Regions from separate parts of the Homo sapiens genome. Here region 2 is linked to region 1. Evidence: promoter capture Hi-C in 16 types of primary human blood cells and fetal thymus (Javierre and others, 2016). All regions are on one chromosome and are shown on one strand. The core of a region is centred on a gene start or on the middle of the fragment in contact, and the rest is flanking DNA. Distances in the headings are between cores, read along the strand shown.

The links. The method cuts DNA at HindIII sites, captures the fragments that hold promoters and counts their contacts. A CHiCAGO score of 5 or more calls a contact.
Region 2: a fragment that was not itself captured here is called in contact with the fragment with the promoter of METTL22 in region 1 in 1 of 17 cell types (non-activated CD4 T cells); the score reaches 6.9 in non-activated CD4 T cells.

What each region holds. Positions count from the first base shown.
Region 1 is chr16:8,618,600-8,623,710 of GRCh38, reverse strand. It overlaps METTL22 (methyltransferase 22, Kin17 lysine), which reads right to left and starts at 2,013. Exons shown (of 11, transcript NM_024109.4): 1 at 1,936-2,013. The HindIII fragment of the contact is 6,720 bases long and covers 1-5,111 here.
Region 2 is chr16:10,750,674-10,755,784 of GRCh38, reverse strand. NUBP1 (NUBP iron-sulfur cluster assembly factor 1, cytosolic) reads right to left here. Exons shown (of 11, transcript NM_002484.4): 4 at 3,107-3,175; 5 at 32-64. Among named protein-coding and RNA genes, the nearest start is that of NUBP1, 9.4 kb to the right of the region's middle. The HindIII fragment of the contact is 7,689 bases long and covers 1-5,111 here.

The DNA.
Region 1 (5,111 bases), core at 764-3,263:
TCTCCATGCTAGCTTTCCTACTCAACACCATAAAGCCATCAAAATGCAAGTGGGTTGTAAAGAAAGTCTGTGAATCTGGCAAATCAATGCAGAATTTCATGGTGTCATTGAAAGTGATGGAGAAATGCTGGACCTGAAGGCCAACACTCAATCAATCGGACTGGCAAAACCACACCAGATTCCAGAAGAGAAAATACAGCTTATACCTACCACTCATTTCAAAGGCAGATCAAGCTCTCTCAGGACTTAGAGATGTCCTGGGGGAAAACTGAGGACTTTCACATACAGTTTTTTTTGAAGGGGGTGGGGAAGATCCTCTCTAATATTGCTGTAAAAATCAAAAGTGAACCAAAGGATGCCATTTCTTTTTTTGCCATAGCGCATTTTTTTTTTTTTTTCTGAGACAGAGTCTCACTCTGTTGCCCAGGCTAGAGTGCAGTGGTGCCATCTCGGCTCACTACAACCTCCGCCTCCTGGGCTCAAGTGATCCTACCTCAGAGTCCCGAGTAACTGGGACTACAGGCATGCACCACAATGTCCACCTAATTTTTGTATTTTTAGTAAAGATGGGGTTTTGCCATGTTGGCCAGGCTAGTCTTGAACTCCTGACCAAGGTAGATCCATCTACCTTGGCCTCCCAAAGTGCTGGGATTATAGGTGTGAGCCACCAGGCATGGCCTATAGCGCAATTTTGTTGGAAAACTTACATCCCAGAAAAATCAATGTTCTTTGCTTTTTCCAAAAGTGAGCATAATATTACACACCAAATTTTAAGTATAGACACACACAAAAAAACTCAAATTCTTAATCTCTAGTTGAATTTTCCATTTTTAAATTCAACCCAACCAGGCTTCCCAAGAAATGTACGCTGCAATGTAAGTTCCAGATGAAGGAGATTCCCTTTAAGTGGCTTTCCCTAGAATCAGCTATCTGGGAATAAGGAGGCCCTCTTGAACCTATCTCAGGCCCTCATATACTCAGAGGAGTATATGAGACAATTACCACTTTTCGGGCTTACGACATATAGTAAACGTTCAATAAGCAACAATAGTAAATACTATCATTATAGTAATATAATAATGATTAAAGTGAATGCTGGGAAGAAAGAAAAAAGGTAACAGTTTCTCTAGTCAGGAAAAGTCTCTTTCCGGAAATGCAGGGTCTGTATGGGCTTCGGGCTCCTCTCTTTACTGGGCAGAGCTGAGAAAGGAGACCCAGGTTGCAGATGGGGACCTGCCCCACCACCTCTCCATAGGGCTGCAGGCTCATCCCTGCAGCAGGAGCTAACGTGTTCTTGGCTCTTCTAAGGCTGTGGGGGCTAGACTGAGACGCTACCAGCTTTCTTCTCCTATAGGTCCCCAGTCAGTTGTCCCAAATAAGCAGTGTGCTGGGATCACGGTGTTGAAATAACTTCCCTCCTCATCTTTCTTTCTGATAACTGCAACTCACTCAACAATCAATAATTTGGCGCGATCCCATGACGATTTAGGCCAGGAGCTGGGGAGGGCAGGGTGTGAAGGCCCAGGCTGGGGGCAGGAAAGACGTGGCCTGGCCACGGTGCGTAGAGTGGTAGTGAGGGGCTCCGGGGACGTCCCCCGTGGGGCTACTCGTTCTCTTTGTCTTGTCGCCTTCCTGACGCCACCCTTGTGGGTTAACTATTGCCCTCTCAAAAAACAGTCACAGGTCGGGCACTGCCCTCCCTTCCTAATCTAGAACCGAAGGAGAGGTGCCTGGACCCAGGATGGAAACCCAGGTGAGGACGTGGACTTCTTTCCCCAACACCCGTGTTGAGAAGGGGAAACTGACGCTAAGAGTGGGGTCGGGCCTTAGGGATCTGGGCCTCCGATCTGTGGGAGCTCGGATTTCAAAGTCAGGCTCGGCGCCAGGAGGTTCCCTGCACCCTACCCTATCCCGCCGCCTCTCCCAGGCACTTACCCGCCGCGGGGCCCAGCCTGGGATCCCACCCGACTCCCGTCTCTGTGGGACTTAGGCGGCCGCCATAACAGGCGGTCTGCGCAGGCGCGGCCCCGCCCCCGCGTGCGACCATCCGACTGCCCCGCACCGTGGCTCCACCTACCTGCCCGGGCCGCGCATGCGTCCGAGGGTTGCCGGCGGGCACCTGTAGCCTTCGCTCTGGTCGCGGGCGAGGCGTGTTTGCTGGGGGGACCCGCCTAGGTGGCTAAACTCATTCCTCTAAAAGACTTAAATAGGAGTTAAATAACTCTCCCAGCTACTAAGTGGTAAAGCCTGGATTCGAACCCGGGGTGTGGGATCAGAGCCGGTGCTATTTAACCAGCATGCTACTGTATTTATTATCACGGGTGTTACCGTCATCCATGCTCTTAGTACTCGTTTGTTTGTTTGTTTGTTTATTTGAGATGGTCTTGCTCTGTCACCCAGGCTGGAGTGCAGCGGCGCAATTTTAGCTCACTGCAGCCTTGAACTCCTGGGCTTAAGGAATCCTGTTTCAGCCTCTCTAGTAGCTGGGACTACAGTTGCGTGGCACCATTTTTTTTTTTTTTTGTACAGACTGTATCTTGTTGTGTTGCCCAGGCTGGTCTCAAACTCCTGGCTTCAAGCAGTCCTCCTGCTTCGGCCTCCTAAAGCTCATAAATTACAGGCATGAGCCACCACGCCCAGCCAGTACTTGTTATTATTAATAGGTGGTAGTGATTTCATTAGGTGGTAGTGATTTCGTTAATTCGTATGCTCATCAAGTTTCCAACACCAAGGGGGTGAGACAGAGTGGCAAACATAAGACTCCATGTTTGCTCGTTTTTTCTTGCCTGCAGAATTTCAGAAAGCCTCTGAGTCCGTGACTGAGCACAGCCCTCAGAAGAATCCCCTGAAGAGGATGAGCAGGATAGACCACAGATTCTCACGTCTCTTGCCTGAGTCACTGCATTTTTAGAAAAAGTACAGTCAATAATATTGGCCCTTTTCTCAATCTATATATTCAGTGACATCATGGAAGTCAGCCTGGCCACAATGGAGTAAGCCAGGGGATGGGCCGCAGGAAACGAGGATACATAGGTAGCCAGGGTTAGAACTTTTGTGACATTCTAAGAACTTTGGATTTTACTGTGCGTGAGATGGGGAGCTGCCAGGGATATACACCACACTGACGTGTTCACAGACATGCCCAGACACACACAGTGGTGCTCACTCTCAGACATGTCAGTGAACATACAAATATACACACAGGAACATATGTAAAGTCCACATATGTAAAATCTATATCCCTGTGTGTTCACATATACACACACGCACACACATGGCCTCAGCTGGCAACCTTTGTCTAAATTACTTTTTTTTCTCTTTTCAAAATAGAATTAAATCAACATCAATTTCATGGTTACTGATGATAAAACGTGGAGAGTTGATAGGGTGACTAAGCGACACAAATAAGAATTTTTTTTTTTTTTTTTTTTAAGAAACAGATTATGTTTCCTGAAATCCCCCAGGACAGTACACAGAGAGCCAGTTGGGTGTCTTGGGACCAGATTCTATTCATAGTTTTCTCTCTAGTTCGCTGAGGGTTCTCTTAGTTATCCCCAGAGGATGTTGAGTGGTGGGGAGGGCACTAGGAAGGCATTGTTCACACCCTTGGGAGTTTTGTCTTCAAATTTAAACCGGGGGAATGACCCTTAAAAATCAAAAGATCACATTCCTCCTCTTGTCAAACCTATAATCTTTTATAGGGGATTAGTGCCCCTACAAAAGAGGCCCCAAAGAGCTGCCTCACTTCTTCTGTCATGTGAGGACACGGCAAAAAGACAGCCATCTATGACCAAGAATTGGACACAGAATCTGCCAGTGCCTTGATTTTGGACTTTCCAGCCCCTAGAACCATGAGAAATGAATGTGTTTATCAGCCACCCCATGTATGGTATTCTGTTATAGCAGCCCAGATGGCCCCAAAAGGGTTATCATTTCTGCCACAAATTTTGAGGTGGTTTGCAACACAGTAATAGGTCACCAGGTAAGGGGAAAGAAAGCCAGCCCTTCTTGGCAGGGCTGCAAAGAGATGGTAGCTGGGGGAGTGCGGGAGGGGGCCCTCAGTTCCGGAGCCTCAGTTATAAACAAGGCACACTGCTGGCCCCTTCATCTTGTGGTTTTGTTTCATTCTCACACCCATTCCGAAGCTCAGAGAGGTGAAGTGCCTTGCTCAGTGTTACCTAGCCAGTGAGACGCAGACTCACGTTTTCTTTTCTTTTCTTTTTTCTTTTTGACAGAGTCTCCATTTGTCGACCAGGCTGGAGTGCAGTGACGCCATCTCAGCTCACTGCAACCTCTGCCTCCCTGGATCAAGCAATTCTCCTGCCTCAGTCTCCTGAGTAGCTGGGATTACAGGCGTGTGCCACCACATCCAGCTAATTTTTGTATTTTTAGTAGAGACGGGGTTTCACCATGTTGGCCAGGCTGGTCTCAAACTCCTGACCTCACGTGATCTGCCCGCCTTGGCCTCCCAAAGTGCTGGGATTACAGGCATGAGCCACCACACTTGGCCTCAGACTCACATTTTCAAAATGTCCCAGTGAGTCTGCTGGGTGGAGCCTTAGGGTTAAATGCCCTCCCTAGTGTCCCAGGCAGGTCTTTTGCTTTGAGAGTCTCCCCCAGACTTGGCGAAGCAAGGGTTAAGGTGCATGCTCACACACGCTGGAGTGTCCATCACTCCCACCACCTGGACTAATGACAAACCATGTCTGCAGCAGAGGGAAGGCGGATGAACTGCCAGATGTGTATTAAGAAACCAGCTTGCAGGAAATTGCTGTCGGGTGATTATTATTAGCTGGGTTATTCAGAACAGCCCTTTCTCCAAAGGTCGTGCATTTACCAAATGCTTGATGTGTTTTCCCAGTCAGCCCCAGAAAATTTTGTCCTCCTGGAGAGAGAGCTTGTCCTCCAGGACTGCTGAAAGTGGGTGATGATAATTCTGCCCCCGCCTCCCATCAGCATATCACGGCAGCTGCTTTGAATGCACAGCAGTCTGCGCTCTGGTTCCTGGTTCTGTGTGCAGAGGCAGGAGGTTGACCTTCAAGAGCACAGAGCTGAGTTCAAATCCCCAGCTCGGCCACTGATTAATTATATTCATCCATTCACTACCTAAT
Region 2 (5,111 bases), core at 951-3,450, 2.1 Mb before region 1:
GTGAAAATAGGGCAAAGAGGTGAAAACTCACCACTGGAGACCAGCCTGAGCCACTCTGGTGAACCTGTGTGAACATGAGCACCGATGTTCATTAGTAGAAATCATGTACCCTGGTCACATTTCATGCACAGACAAATTGTACAAAGTAAGACGATGGTTTTTTAAAATATAATTCATTGTCTTACATGGTACCACGAAATTCCTAAAAGGAGGTGAACAGCTAGGGCGTGGGTAATAAAGATGCAACTCAACTCCCTTTGTGCCCTAAGCTGGGTTATTTGGAAACTCTACTTGGATGTCTAGATAGGGAACCAAAGTTACTCAAGTTCAAATATGATGTTGTGTCTAAGGTATCTTAAAAGAGTCATAAAAATCGGCTGGGGACTGATGAGAAAATGCAGATACCTGTGGAGCAATGAGGTGGCTTTTGTAAAAGCACAGGAGTGAAGGGAATGAGCTCTCACGAAACAGCTGATTCAGAACCTGTCCCCAATCAGCTCCAGCCACAAAGGGGAGCTTCCTGGGGCAACAAGATTCAGACCTCTTCCCCCCAGCAGGTGTCCAGCAGCACACAAAGCGCACACTGAAAGTTTAATTTTCTTGATGAAGCCTTACTTTTCTCAACAGATTTACTGAGACATGATTCATAGACAATATGACTCACCCATTGAATGAGTGGCTTTCTGTACAGTCACAAGCATGCAGCCATCACCACAGTTTTATTTTTTATTTTTATTTTTGAGATGGGGTCTTGCCCTGTCGACCAGGCTGGAGTGCAGTGGCGTGATCCTGACTCACTGCAACCTCCACCTCCCAGGTTCAAGTGATTCTCCTGCCTTAGCCTCCCAGGTAGCTGAGATTATAGGTGCCCGCCACCATGCCCAGCTAATTTTTGTATTTTTTGTAGAGACGGGGTTTCACCATGTTGGCCAGCCTGGTCTCAAACTCCTGACCTCAAGTGATCCACCCGCCTTGGCCTCCCAAAGTGTTGGGATTGCAGGTGTGAGCCACTGTACCCAGTCACCACAATTTTAGAACATTTGCCTGACTCTTAAGAAGAATCCCTATACCCCTCAGCTGTCACCACCCCCCACAGTCTGTCTCACATCCTCCCAGCCTTACAGGACCCCTAATCCACTTTCTCTCACTGTGGACTGACCTATTCTGCACATTTCATGTAAGTGGAATCACACAACATGCGGTCCTCTGTGACTGACTTCGAAGTTCTATTAAAAGACACCCAGCCAGGCACAGTGGCTCACACCTGTAATCCAAACACTGCGGGAGGCTGAGGCGGGAGGATCACCTGAGGTCAGGAGTTCGAGACCAGCCTGGTCAACATGGTGAAACCCCAACTCTACTAAAAATACAAAAAATAGCTGGACGTGGTGGCGTGTGTCTGTAATGCCAGCTATTCAGGAGGCTGAGGCAGGAGAACTGCTTGAGCCCGGGAGGCGGAGGTTGTGGTGAGCCGAGATCGCGACACTGCACTCCAGCCTGGGCAACAAGAGTGAAACTCTGTCTCAATAAAATAAATAAAATAAAATAAAATAAAATAAAATAAAATAAACCCCACAAAACCATTCATTCCTATTTACACTCGTTTGCTAAGTCCATTTGTCTTAAAAGAGGGGTAAACAGGATGATCCAATAGTGCAGGAGAAGAAAATAGGGAAACTTCTATTTTCTTTTATTTTAAAATTTTCTGTTTCATGAAATAATTACGTGTGATGACAGTAGCTTATACCTTCACTGTGGCGTGTGCTACCAAATCCATTGGGGTATGTGACCAAGCCTCACAGGGTGACATCGCTCTCCTTCCCTACTCCCTCGGAAGCAAACCCCAAGGCCTTAGAAGTGCCTGCAAGGCCGGCCCCATCTGCTTCGGGCCACCCTCCAGCCCCTCTGGTCACTCCACTGAGGACACAAGGACACCTTGTGTCAGCGGCCCATGCAGTTGCTCCCTTAGCCCAGAATGCCCTTCCCCCAGCTCTCCCCTCCTGTCATCCTCTGCTCAAATGCTATCCCTCAGTGAGGGCACCTTTGACCACCCCTCAGCCCCTCTGACTCTGCCCTACTGTCCATCCCCTCACTCTGGGTTGGTTTCACATTATCTAGCATCTGCCTTCTCCCACCCAGACAGGGGTCTTCATGGACCTTGTTCACCACTGCATCCCCAAAACAGGATTAATGCATTCCTGGCACTAATTAAAGAAAGAACCAATCTTGAGACTCTCGGGACATCCCAGCACCCCCAGCCCCAGCTTCCATGCACTGCCCTTGGGGGAATCCTCTCTTGGAGAGCTTCTTGCTAGCAAGAAGAGGCCAGCAACTACATAGACTGCTACAGCCCTGCCCCCAGCCCACATCGCTCACCCGCCCTGCAGTCTCAGTTCCCCAGGGGAGACCACAAGGGCAGAAATATTCCCTTGCTTCCAGGGTACAGACCCATAGCAAGCCCTGGTCTAATGTTCCCAGTCAGAGCTAAATTTCCGTGTCTTACTTCTGCATTTCACTGGCTGTTTCCCTTCCCCTCTGAGGAGGCATCGAAACCAATGCTTCTCCAATGGTGTAGACAGACTTCATATACAATCCCGCCCCTCCCCCGCCAAGACTCACAGTTGTTGTTAAAAGTAGACAGATGGACTACTGAGCATGTATGAGCTCCTCATGTCCACATAAACATTTACAGGCCAGGTGCGGTGGCTCACGCCTGTAATCCTAGCACTTTGGGAGGCTGAGGCAGGTGATCACTAGAGGTCAGGAGGTGGAGCCCAGCTTGGCCAACGTAGTGAAACCTGGTCTCTACCAAAAATACAAAAATTAGTTGGGCATGATGGCACACCACTGTAGTCCCAGCTACTCAGGAGGCTGAGCACAAGAATCGCTTGAACCCAGGAGGTGGAGGTTGCAGTGAGCTGAGGTTGCACCACTGCACTCCAGCCCGGGCGACAAGAGTGAGACCTTGTCTCAAAAACAACAAAACAAAACAACAACAAAAAAACATTTATGGGCTCCGCATGCCTCTTTGTTGAGGTTTGACAGTTCAGTGCTACAGAGTTTGCCTTAAGAGAATAATTTCCTGAGTTCTGTAACCGGCTATTACCTGCTCTCCTTCCAATCCCATTATCTTGGGAATCGATGGCCCACATATATCGATGTCTAGAAGAGCAATCTGGGGACAAGAAGAGACCAAAGCGGTTATATAACTGAATGCACACACTCCAGACACACACAACTAGGAGGGGAGCGGGGTTAGAGGAAAAGGACAGGGGAGAAGACAGAAACTGGGTTAAACTTGGAGCCATCAGATTCTCCTGAGGGAGAGTCCTAACGCTGATCTCAAGGTTCATAAACACTGATGCCCCCATTCCCCTACCCCTCAGCCTGGCTGAGCTCCTCAAGGGTGATCTTACAGACCTGGCTGTCAGGTCACTTGGAGGCTCGGGCTCAGACCTTGTTTACTGAGCCCTGGTTGGAGGAGACGGGGAAAGGGACCTAGCGCCTGTTTGGCTTGTGTGACAGAATGGATGGAACAGCCAAGAGACGGCAGTGTTGGAGCCACCCTAAACAGCTCTCTTTTGCTCACCCCTCACCAAGCCTTGGTCTCTGCATCTTAAATTTTTCTCAAACTCATCCTATCTTGTTCAGGAGTCTCAGATACAAGCCAAATCTAGACTATTTAAGCAGAATATGAATGTATTAAAAAATATTGGGGGCTGGGTGCAGTGGCTCACGCCTGTAATCCCAACACTTTGGGAGGCTGAGGCGGCCATGTGCCTAGAAGGTAAGTATCATTATCTCTGGTTTACAGAGGAGGAAACTGAGGTTCAGAGGGGACCAGTTCAATAAGCAGGGAACAGAGCTGGGACATAAACTGAGGTCTTTCGGCCCCAACTGGGGCTCTTTCCAGTACACCACGGGCCTGCTGTGGAGGACCAGAGTGGAGCCTCTAGCTGAACCCTGACCAAGCCCTGTTTTCCTTTGATCCTGAAGGTGAATGATGGTTTAGGCTAAACTTACAGAACAGAAACTTAAAGTAAGATGGAAACCTGGAAAAGCTCTTTAGTTGTGACTCAGGTGCAGCTTCAGGCGACCCCATTCCACCCCAAGCCTTCCCCTCTGATACAGGAGGTCTGAGACGGCCTTCAGGAACCTTCTGAGAACAGGGCTAGTATTCATCTTGAAAGCTGCAATGACTCGGATCCAAAGTGCTGCACCTCCGCGTCACTTTTTAACTTGCCCTGAATTAGTTTCTTGCCACCCTCTTCAATCCTCTCAACAAACCCAGCCTCCTACTTCCTCAGCACCCAGCGCTGTCTCAAACTTGTGCACGGGAAAACGCCATCCACAGACCAGCACTGGCCTCAGGTGCCCTCTATGGAGCCATCCGGGGAGAACAGCAGAGCGACATCATCGGAAAACCTGACTTGCTCTCTCCGGACCTTGATACTTGGGACTGATGTGTCAATGATCCACGGGGAAATGACACTATCACTATGACTGTGATAGAGACTTTCCTCGATACTCTCAGGTTTCTAGTGACTCTGTCTCCATGCCCTTCCTTTAGGGAACAATTTAATCAATTCCCTTTAGAGGAATTTCACTCCCTTGGGGAGTGAATCTTGAGCGAAATGATGTAAGGATATGAGAAGCAGATCCAGCGCACTCTCTCACTCCCGTGGCAGGCCCGAGAGGCTGTTGACAAGCTCCTGCTACCCAGATGGCCAGGACGGCCCTGGGTCCTGTCTGTTCAGACTTCCTGTTGATCTTATTACTACCCCAAAATCTGTCCATTTAATTTTGCTTAGGTTAGGCCAGAAAAGCAAAGCTGAGAGCAATGCGCCTGCGTTCCTCCCAGCAGGACCTCTGGGCCTGTGTTTGCAGCTGATGGGAAGAGGCCGCGTTTGCTGCAGAAGGTGGAGATGCTGCAAGGCTGTCGGGACCCAAAGCGTCTCCTTTACTCAGCACCCCAAACTGCCCCTGATGAGGAGGGTAGGGGAAGAGGGATTTAGTCCTAACTTTTAGTCCTTGCACAAGTTGCTTCTGCTTTCGAAGCCTTGGCTGTCTGGGCTTCTGATCTGTGAGACAACTGCTCCGGGGTCATCAAG